2 separate regions of the Homo sapiens genome follow, and region 1 is linked to region 2. Evidence: promoter capture Hi-C in human tissues and cell types (Jung and others, 2019). All regions are on one chromosome and are shown on one strand. Each heading gives the region's core, a stretch centred on a gene start or on the middle of the fragment in contact. The rest is flanking DNA. Distances are from core to core; before and after follow the strand shown. Region 1 holds the start of OR10P1 (olfactory receptor family 10 subfamily P member 1). Region 2 holds the start of LACRT (lacritin).

What was found. The method cuts DNA at HindIII sites, captures the fragments that hold promoters and counts their contacts. A contact is called where the count stands out against the background at its distance.
Region 1: the fragment with the promoter of OR10P1 here is called in contact with the fragment with the promoter of LACRT in region 2 in 1 of the 25 tissues and cell types used here (mesendoderm cells).

What each region holds. Positions count from the first base shown.
Region 1 is chr12:55,635,263-55,640,560 of GRCh38, forward strand. It overlaps OR10P1 (olfactory receptor family 10 subfamily P member 1), which reads left to right and starts at 1,630. Exons shown (of 1, transcript NM_206899.1): 1 at 1,630-2,571. The coding sequence starts at 1,630. The coding sequence ends at 2,571. RefSeq lists an enhancer at 1,467-1,968. The HindIII fragment of the contact is 17,045 bases long and covers 1-5,298 here.
Region 2 is chr12:54,632,349-54,637,383 of GRCh38, forward strand. LACRT (lacritin) reads right to left here and starts at 2,547. Exons shown (of 5, transcript NM_033277.2): 1 at 2,436-2,547; 2 at 832-885; 3 at 1-33. The coding sequence starts at 2,493. The HindIII fragment of the contact is 5,914 bases long and covers 1-4,621 here.

The DNA of each region.
Region 1 (5,298 bases), core at 380-2,879, 1.0 Mb after region 2:
ATTTTTTGTATTTTTAGTAGAGACGGGGTTTCACCGCGTTAGCCAAGATGGTCTCGATCTCCTGACCTCGTGATCCACCCACCTCAGCCTCCCAAAGTGCTGGGATTACAGGCGTGAGCCACTGCGCCTGGCCTTGGTTTTTTTTTTTTTCTTTTTTTTTTTTTTTTTTTTTTTTTGACTGGTGATTAACCTCCAAGGCAGTTGATAACTTGGTGGTTAAGATCACAGGCTCTGGGGTTAGGCAGACCTGGATTTGAACCCAAACTCTGTCACTTACAAAATGTGTGACATTGAGAAAGTTACTTAACACTGTCTGGGCTTCCCTCTCCTTATCTGTAAAATGGAGAAAATGAAGGTTTCTATGTCGTAGTGTAATTAGGAAGATCCAATGATTTAATGAATGTTTAGCCCTTAGCATGGTGCCTGGCAGGAACCAAGCACTTGGGAAACATTAGCAGCTGCTAAAATAGGTAACTGCCTCCCCACCTCCCCACCACGTCCTGCAGGATCTCACAGTGGAGTAATAAGTGCTAGGACAAAAGGACAAGCAACATCTCATGAAAGCAGAGATAAAAGTGCCTTCCTCAAATACTCAAGGGCTCTCTGGTGCAAGAGGAGTTAAATATTGTATGAAATACTAAGCATTTAGCCAAGACCAATACAGTAAAGTCTTTTCCTACAGGCAGAAGAGGCCATAGCTAGAAAGGGCTACCTCAATAGGTGGTGAGTTCCCCATCACTGCAGATGTTCAAACAGACTCTGCACAGCACCCTTCTAAAATGTTGAAGATAAGATCCAAGTACTGTCATATGGAAATATATGTTCCTAAATGTCACTTTTAATCTTGAAATGCCATGGATAATTATTTCTGAGCCTGAGGATCACAGAAAGCTGCCACCGAGATAGCGAAACTTGAGTGAAGGCTTGAAGTGTGATGGGATTTTAATATGAAGAATAGAAATATCCTCTGAAAGGAGACACTATGGCAATGCATGGAGGCCTGACAGAACAGGGTGTGCTGGGACAGAACAGCTAGTGTAGCTGATCACAGGGCCCCAGATAAGAGGAGAACAGAGAAATCAGGGAAGGTGTCAGAATCCCAATGATACCATTGGGCAGTATTATCACAAATAGTCATATCACTGTGTGACACTCTTAACCCACAGCTCACTATGGTGAACATTAGACACCAGTTCGGGACAGTCCCTGGTGCTACCCAGTTTCTTTTGTGCCTCAGCATCCATCTAGAGAGTACAAAGGGGCCTAGGTCATAGCAGCTGCTTCACCCCTCACTCTGGAGAGAGATCCAAAGATCAGAGCTAGAGTCTTTACATATGAGAGTCAGGCCCCAGACACAGGACGAGAGCCCAGGAAACAGTGAGAAAGGCGTCGAATTTGGAGTCAAGAGACCTGGATTCAAGTTCCAGGCCTGCCACTTTCTAGATATTACCTCAGACACATTATTTAATCTCTCTGAGACCCATGGCTCATTCAGAGAAAGGTATTAATTCTCTCACTTGATTTTGAGAGGAACTGTGTGGCAAGTGCTTTACCAAATTACAGAAATGTTGCTTGTTATTTCTAAATAACTTCTCTTCTTGGCTGTGCCTCAGCTTCTGGCCTGGAGTGATGGCTGGGGAAAACCATACTACACTGCCTGAATTCCTCCTTCTGGGATTCTCTGACCTCAAGGCCCTGCAGGGCCCCCTGTTCTGGGTGGTGCTTCTGGTCTACCTGGTCACCTTGCTGGGTAACTCCCTGATCATCCTCCTCACACAGGTCAGCCCTGCCCTGCACTCCCCCATGTACTTCTTCCTGCGCCAACTCTCAGTGGTGGAGCTCTTCTACACCACTGACATCGTGCCCAGGACCCTGGCCAATCTGGGCTCCCCGCATCCCCAGGCCATCTCTTTCCAGGGCTGTGCAGCCCAGATGTACGTCTTCATTGTCCTGGGCATCTCGGAGTGCTGCCTGCTCACGGCCATGGCCTATGACCGATATGTTGCCATCTGCCAGCCCCTACGCTATTCCACCCTCTTGAGCCCACGGGCCTGCATGGCCATGGTGGGTACCTCCTGGCTCACAGGCATCATCACGGCCACCACCCATGCCTCCCTCATCTTCTCTCTACCTTTTCGCAGCCACCCGATCATCCCGCACTTTCTCTGTGACATCCTGCCAGTACTGAGGCTGGCAAGTGCTGGGAAGCACAGGAGCGAGATCTCCGTGATGACAGCCACCATAGTCTTCATTATGATCCCCTTCTCTCTGATTGTCACCTCTTACATCCGCATCCTGGGTGCCATCCTAGCAATGGCCTCCACCCAGAGCCGCCGCAAGGTCTTCTCCACCTGCTCCTCCCATCTGCTCGTGGTCTCTCTCTTCTTTGGAACAGCCAGCATCACCTACATCCGGCCGCAGGCAGGCTCCTCTGTTACCACAGACCGCGTCCTCAGTCTCTTCTACACAGTCATCACACCCATGCTCAACCCCATCATCTACACCCTTCGGAACAAGGACGTGAGGAGGGCCCTGCGACACTTGGTGAAGAGGCAGCGCCCCTCACCCTGAAGGGACTCGGATGTCTGCTCACTCACTCAGTGCTCATCCTCCCACTCTTCAGGGACTGGATTTAAACCCCACTCTCACAGAAATCATGCAGCACCTCAAAGGAAAAGGCTTCCTGGAAGAAAGTGCTGAAATTAAAACAGAGATAAATCTACATATTGCCTCTTATCCCAGAGTCCACACTCACTATCAGAGCATGGGTTATTAGGTCAAGGTAGAATGAAAGTGATTGCTGCCCTAGGGAAAGGACATTTATTTAGCATCTTCTAGATTGTTCTGGATCCCTGAGCACAGTGATTGCCATGGCTGCACCGGTAGCCAGAGGTCCATGTCAGTCATGAAAGCAGGTGTCTGTGAACTTGACATCCAACTAAGTGGCCCACCCAAAGCCTGTGGAGGAGTTTACCTAGCCCCTCTGTTACATTTTCTTCCACCACCTGTGTCTGAGCTTTCCTCTACTCAGTGGAACATCTGTTCTCCCCTTGGCCTTCAGGAAGAGGGGCATCTGAGGGTTCCAGTCATAAGGCTCTCTCCTTCCCAAGATACCAGCACAAAAGGGAAGATGGTCAGATGGTATCAAAAAGGACCAAGTTAAACATCAGGAAAAGTTATCTCCCAGGACAGCCTATACATGTCTCCCAGAAACACACTGGGGTGTCCTACTGTGGGTGCTTTTGGGAAAGAGCTGGTCAGGGATTCCAGAAGACCCACCAGCTTGAGAGGCAGGATCCAGAGCTGGAGCTAACCAGGGAGCCAGAAGCAAGACAAGGTGGAAGGAAAACACTCCCATCCCTCTGTGCTGAGGTGCCACCGGCTGCCCACTTCCCTCAGCCCAGGGACAGATGTTTCTCCTGCTTTATTCCCTGGAGCCCCCCATAGCTAAAGGGCAGCAGAAGGCCGAGGCAAAAAGACAGGCTGTTCCACGTCCCCTCTATTCCCTCACCTCTCACACATCATTACCACCTTTGTGTCCTCTAGCCAAGAAATGCCAGAAACTCTGGCTTTCAGTGAGGAGAGACCTCAACATTTCATCAATAACATGAGCTGTTCAGGAAATGATGGGAACCCAGTCTTCCCTCTTACCACCCCTGTGATCTTCAAGGAGTCCTTATCCCTCACAGAGGCTCTGCTCTTGTGCGAAGGAGTATTCAGCCATGGGAATCAGTGTGTTCTTCTGTAGCCCAGCCTCTGCACCCACTTCTTTCTTTTCTTTTTTCTTTTTTTTTTTTTTTTTTTGATGAAGTTTTGCTCTTGTCGCCCAGGCTGCAGTGCAAAGACGCAGTCTCGGCTCACTGCAACCTCCACCACCTCCCAGGTTTAAGCAATTCTCCTGCCTCAGCTTCCCAAGTAGCTGAGATTACAGGCACGCCCGGCTAATTCTGTATTTTCAGTAGAGATGGGGTTTCACTATGTTGGCCAGGCTGGTCTAGAACTCCTGACCTCAGATGATCCAGTCAAAATAAGTCTCATGAAGTTGTTCTCATTCCTAGAAATAGAGAGTAGAATGGTGGTTACCAGAGCCTGGAGAAGGAAGTGGGGAAGGGGACATAGGGAGGGATTGGTCAGTGGATACAAAGGTACGTTTAGAAGGAATAAGTTCTAGTGTTCTATGGCACCATAGGGTGACCTCAGGTAACAATATTGTATTGTAGATTTCAAAATAGCTAGAATAGAGAATTTTGAATGTTTTCACCACAAAGAAATGATAAAGGCATAAGGTAATTATAAATTTAGAAAGGGAGATTTCTTTTTTTTTTTTTTTCTAAGACAGGGTCTCACTTTGTCACCCAGGCTGGAATGCAGTGGTATGATCTTGGCTCACTGCAACCTCAGCCTCCCTGGTTCAAGTGATCCTCCAGCCTCAGCTTCCCAAGTAGCTGGGACTACAGGCACATGCTGCCATACCAGCTAATTTTGGGGTTTTTTTGTCTGTTTTTGTTTTTTTGTAGAAACGGGGCTTCACCATGTGGCCCAGGCTAGTTTCGAACTCCTGAGCTCAAGTGATCCATCCACCTTGGCCTCCCAAAGTGCTAGGATTACAGGCGTGAGCCACCGCCCCCAGCAGGAGGCTTTATTTCTTAAAAACTGTTACAGCATGTAAGGTGGCCATTCTAACAGGCTGGGAAGCATAGGCTCCAGCCAAAGCCCAAAAGGCAGGCACTTCGAGGGAGAGGCAGGTGGAACAGGGATTTATGTGCTAAGCAGGTTGGCCAGGTGTACACATTCAGTAGGTTACGGGAGGAGCTAGGAATATTCCTGAAGGTGGTCCTAACATGTAGGTGCTAAATAAACATATATGTAGCATATGACCCATGTTCACCTTGGGGTGCAAACTTAACATTTACGTGCATTACAATTTAGACCCTTACATCAAAAGGTGAAGCAGAGACACAAAGGCATTCAAGTGTGCAGCCTCTGTAAACTGGCCAGAAGCAGCCCCTGGGCAGTGGTCTTCTTATCAGGAGAAAGTTACTGAAATCAATCATTTGGCCAATCAAAGCTGTAGTTATGGCTTGTGGAACAGGGGAGTCAGCCAGTAAGTGTCTGGTGGTGGAGGAGCTACAACTGTTTTGCTATTGCTTATCTCGAAGCCAGAGCTTGTTTAGCTGCTAGAGAAAAAGGAAAACCTTGTGGCAGTTAGAACATAGTTTATTCTTTAAGTGTAGGAATGTGTGACTTAACCTTTGCCTGGCATGGCCTTAAGTCCTGTTCATAATTTGATATATTATT
Region 2 (5,035 bases), core at 1,297-3,796:
CTGCTGGACCTGAGATCTCTTCATTAGGCTTAGCTGTGAATGCACAAATTGATGGATTTTAGCAAAGTGAAAGTGTTTGTTTCTTTTGGAATGGGTTGCAGGGCCCCAGGATACCTAATGTGTGCTGGGTGCCAGGATACAGAAGTGATATGGCTTAAACGCTGCCCCCTTAAGGGAGATAGCATTTCTGCATGCTGTGTGTCTCTTGGAATGCAGCGGGCAGGGTTGGGGAAGGATTTGGACTAGGGGATGGTGAGAATCGGGGAGCACTTCATAGAGAAGCTGGATCTTGAAGGCAGGATGTTAGCAGGAGAGGATGTACCAAAGGGGCTTCCCTGGGGGCAGGCAGTGAGTAAGAGGTCAGGCGAAGGCATGTGTGGGGAATGGAAACAAGTTCAATTTAGCTGATGTGGGTGCGACATAAAAGAGAGTCATGGAAAATGGGGTTGGAAAATGAGGTTAGAGGCCAGATAATGGTTATCTTGCTAAGGAATTGGGAGTAATGGGAGGTGTTTGCAGGTGAAGGTATTAATGCCATGTGAGACATTGCCCTTACCACTTAACCTCATGTTTCTCTCCCTTTTATTCACAATAACCTTTTCCCCATGCTCCCTATTGTCCTTGCCTCTCTGGGTCATCCTCTTTTGTCCTTAGCCTTGTACCATTTCAACCCATGCCACCTTCTTTATTATATTACCTGCCCCTCCCCATTACCACCAAGCACAGAATCCAGATCTCCTCCCACTGGCTTCTTCTCCCAGCCACCACTCACATCCCTAACTGTTAAACCTTCCCAACGAGGGCTAGGGCAGCAGGGAGAGGAGGACTCACAGGTCCCAGCTTCCTGGGCAGGATCAGCACCCGTCGAGTCAGAGGAGGCATCTTCTGCAATGGGGGAAACATGCCAGATGAGAGCAAGGACCGAACCGGACCTACTCGAGCCACCCTCCCCTCCCATTCCCAAAGCTTATCTCCTGGGAATGCTCATGGATAGAAGGGGATCAATTTCCCTTTGGGTTGGACATGCCCTTCCACCATATCAGCGGGTCTACTGGGGCACTCTCTGATGTTTAACTCCTGTGGCTTTTGAAATAACTTCCCCTCTGAGAAGTGTAATGTCTCTTGGAACAGTGCCTTCCTCCTGACTGGCCCCTGGCTTGGTAGGCTTCCCTGAGGTGTCTGTCATGGAGCTGGCCATGGTCAGAGGGGCTCAACCTCCTCTGTGGTGGAGGAGGACAGTATGTGGGGGTTATGGGGCCATATTTGAGCGATTTGCAGGATTGAGACCCCAGCCTTGATTCCCTTTATTCTTTCAACACAACATTTATGCAAAGCTCTGTGCCAAGAGATGGAGGTGCAGTGCTGAAGAGGGCAGACAAGACCCCTGCCCTGACAGAGCTTACATCTGTCCTTTTACGAAATTATTTAATGGCTGGTGTGACAGTGCTGGAAGGGAACGTGCAGCCTGGTGCGAGAAGGGCACATGGATCTGATTTGTTCCGCATGTGCATGGAAGGCCTTTTTGGGGAATTATATGTAAACTGAGATTTTCTAGATGAAAAATCATTGGCCAGGTGACATTAGAGTTGGTTGGGGGAAGGGGCCAGGGAGAGGGAAAGCATTCTAGACGAGGAAAGGACAAGAAGGAAGATCCTGATGTTCAAGGAACAGCAGGATCATCATGGCCCAAATAGTGCTTCTGTGGATCAAAAAAGGCATCCCAGCAGGGCACGGTGGCTCACGCCTGTAATTCCAACACTTTGGGAGGCCAAGGCAGTCGGATCACCTGAGGTCAGGAGTTCGAGACCAACCTGGCCAACATGGTGAAACACCGTCTCTACTAAAAATACAAAATTAGCTGGGCAAGGTGGCATGAGCCTGTAGTCCCAGCTACCCAGGAGGCTGAGGCAAGATAATCGCTGGAACCCAGGAGGTGGATGTTGCAGTGAGCAGAGATCGTGCCACTGCACTCCAGCCTGGGCAACAGAGGGAGACTCGGTCTCAAAAAAAAAAAAAAAAAAAAGGCATCCCTTCCTCCTAAGAGACACAGCCAGGGGCCAGGCTCACTGCTTGGCAAGTAGAGTGTCGGCCAGATTTTAGCTTCTACCACTCCTTGCCTGGGCACCCTCGTGTAGGGGACACCCTGCTCAACTACATGCAGGGGACACCAGAGAAGCCAGTGTAGCTGAGGCATAGTGGGTAAACAATGGTGTGTGAGGAGATGAGCTGGGAGGGCAGGCAGAGGCCAGAGAGTTCTGGGTTCCTCTGGCCAGTGGGGTGCAGAGGCCACGTGTGGAGAACTGGGAGAGGAGTCACTTGCAGAGGCAGGGAAACCAGAATAGCACTGAGAGAGGAGGAGAGGGGTGAAGGCAGGAGTGAGGGGCTCCTTGGACTGGGAGGACTCTTGTGGGGCGCAGAGGAAAGGCCATACTCACCAGCATAGACCAGGGCCCCTGCTACAGCTGCCAAGAAGAGGAGAGTGGTAAATTTCATTCTTTGGGATGAGGAGTGAGTATAACCACAGAATCTGCAGAAGGTCTGGGGAATAAGGATGCTGAAATTGCTGGGCCCTTTTAAGGATATCAAGGGCCAATGGGAACCAAGCCTGGAGAGGTGTGACTTCCGCATCCTCCTCCCCTTCTTCCCCAAACTGTCACCTGCTAAGTCAACAAGGGCTAGGTTGGGCTGGCTGATACCTGGGATCCTTGCAGGCAGGTCCTGGATAGGAGCCTTTCTCTAACTCCCAGCCATCCCTTTTCTTTCTCCCTCCTCCCTTCCCCACCACACCTGCCCTCTGGGTTCACACCCCTGGGCTCTCAGGGACGGTAGGTAGAGCACATTTCACTTGGGGAGATTCTGGGATGTGTCTGTTGAGGGTTCTGGTAGAGAAATCTTAATCTTGTCATCTCTCCAGGAGGAGGTTGAGGGCTCAGGGGATTACATTGTCCACCTTCTGTCCCAGTCTACATAGGACTCAGTGCAGGGTTTGAAGGTTTCCCCAAACTAAGTGAGCCCGTTTCCTTGGGAGACCACACCTAGAACACTTGAGGCCTGAGTTCCTGGCTGCTTTCTCCCCATGAGGGGATGGGTTTGAAGGCGTGTGTGCCTTCTCTGGAGTTGTTCTCTGTTCTTGACATTATCCAGCCCCTAAAAAGAACTCCTCCAGGCTCACATAGGCCTGTCAATCTCTGTCTTCAGGCCTACTCAATGGGACCCCACATTTCTGAGAGAATCTCCTGGTCAAAGCATGATGGTGGTTCACTGAAATTGGAGCTTGGTTCTGACTTCAAGTGGGGAGCTGACCCATGGTGTGAATAATCCAGAAAAGCAGATTATTCTAAAGAAGCTTCTCTTTGACTTGGCGTTTCTTCCTTTCCTGATCTGGGACTCTAGAGGTCTGGATTTTGAGTTCTGGCTTTGTCATATGAAAATGTTAGGATTTGAAAAGTGATAGGATTTTTATTTGTTGTCTAGGAGTTGTGGCTCCTATGTACAGCATAGTGGTGGAGATTAAGTGGGATAATATACGGCAAAGCATTTTTTTAGACAGCGAAGTTCTATGGAGTTGTGTGGGGTTCTTGTACCATCTTTCCAAGTAGGTTTTTGTCCAGGCTGGTGCTAAATGCTAGATATTAATAGAACGGGCCGTGGAGCAGGAGTCAGTTGAGGGGCTGAAGGGTGGAGAATAAGGTGCTGGATGTCAATTTGTGACTTTCCCCTTGCTTGGTGTTGGCATTCACCCAGCCCCATGTGGGCTGATTCCGGAGGCTTCTCTGCCTCATGGTAGCTCTGAAGATGAGTGTGAGAAGGGGGTATTGAAGAGTTTTCAACATGAGGGTGTTTTGGGTGCCAGGGTTTAGAACATTAATCTTTTCAGGAGATAAAGGAAGATAAAATTAATGGGGTGGGACATTAAAGCCTTGGCAATTGCTACCTGCCTGAGGGTCTGGGCCTGGGAGCCTTGAAGGTGGTGGTGGCCTTACCTGGAATGGGGAAGGCTGAAGAACAAGAGAAAGTTTTGATGGCACCAGTGCCCTGGGTATGTGCACATACGTGTGTGCACGTGTGTGTACACTGCAGAAGGAGAAGTCCTGCAGATCCCAAACAGATCTAGATCCCGAGCAGTCTCCATGAGCACATTAAAAAAGTCAACAGGAGCAAATTATGCTATTTGCACAAGACTTTTCTAAGAGGAAATGAGAACTTTGGCGTCAACACTAGAACTGTCACAGAGCAGGGTCTTTCCAAATGTCACCGCATAGCCCTTTCCTCTCCCAAATCTTCCTCCTGGCCTCAGTAATTAAAGAGGCAAGCATTTACATAAATAGGGATGAGGTGAAAGTAAGGACATTTGTTTTATAGAAAATTTTCATTATTCTATAACAGGGCCCAGAGAAATGTTACCCCAAATTATAGAGCCTGGGAAAGAATTGGGTGCATAGATTAAAGAGGCAGACCTCATGGATATGGGTGAGAGGCTGCTCTGTGCAATGTCTTGACGGACCTCATGGATATGGGTGAGGGGCTGCTCTGTGTGATGTCTTGTTTTCTAGGTTATCTGACCTCCATGATGACTGTCAGTTCGCTGATCTGTGTCTTGTCTCATGGGCTGCTCGTTGTACCTCTCTCCCCTCTGCCTCAGGTTTATTCTCTCTCATCTCTGCACTGGTCTGGAAGGATGCCTCTATGGGCTGTATCACCTGGGCTCCCATGCCCTCTAGCTTCGAGTTGAGTTTGGCCAATGGGAGACACAGGTGGGAGATGGGAGGGTGGGAAAAGGGAGAGATTAAGGCATTTGTTCCTCCTGCTCCCTCTCTTGCTTTGGCATGTGTGGTAGGACGACTTCAGAGATAGCTCCTGGTGATGCCTACGTCTTGGCATTGGTGCCCTGCTGTAATTTCCTCTGCTTAACTGGGCTGGGTCTCGAGATTCACTCCTAACAAATAGAAGATGGCAAAGTGATGAGGTAGTCAGTTCTGAGACTATGACTTTAGTCTTGTTTACACACACTCTGTCTCTGGATCTTCTCAGCTTG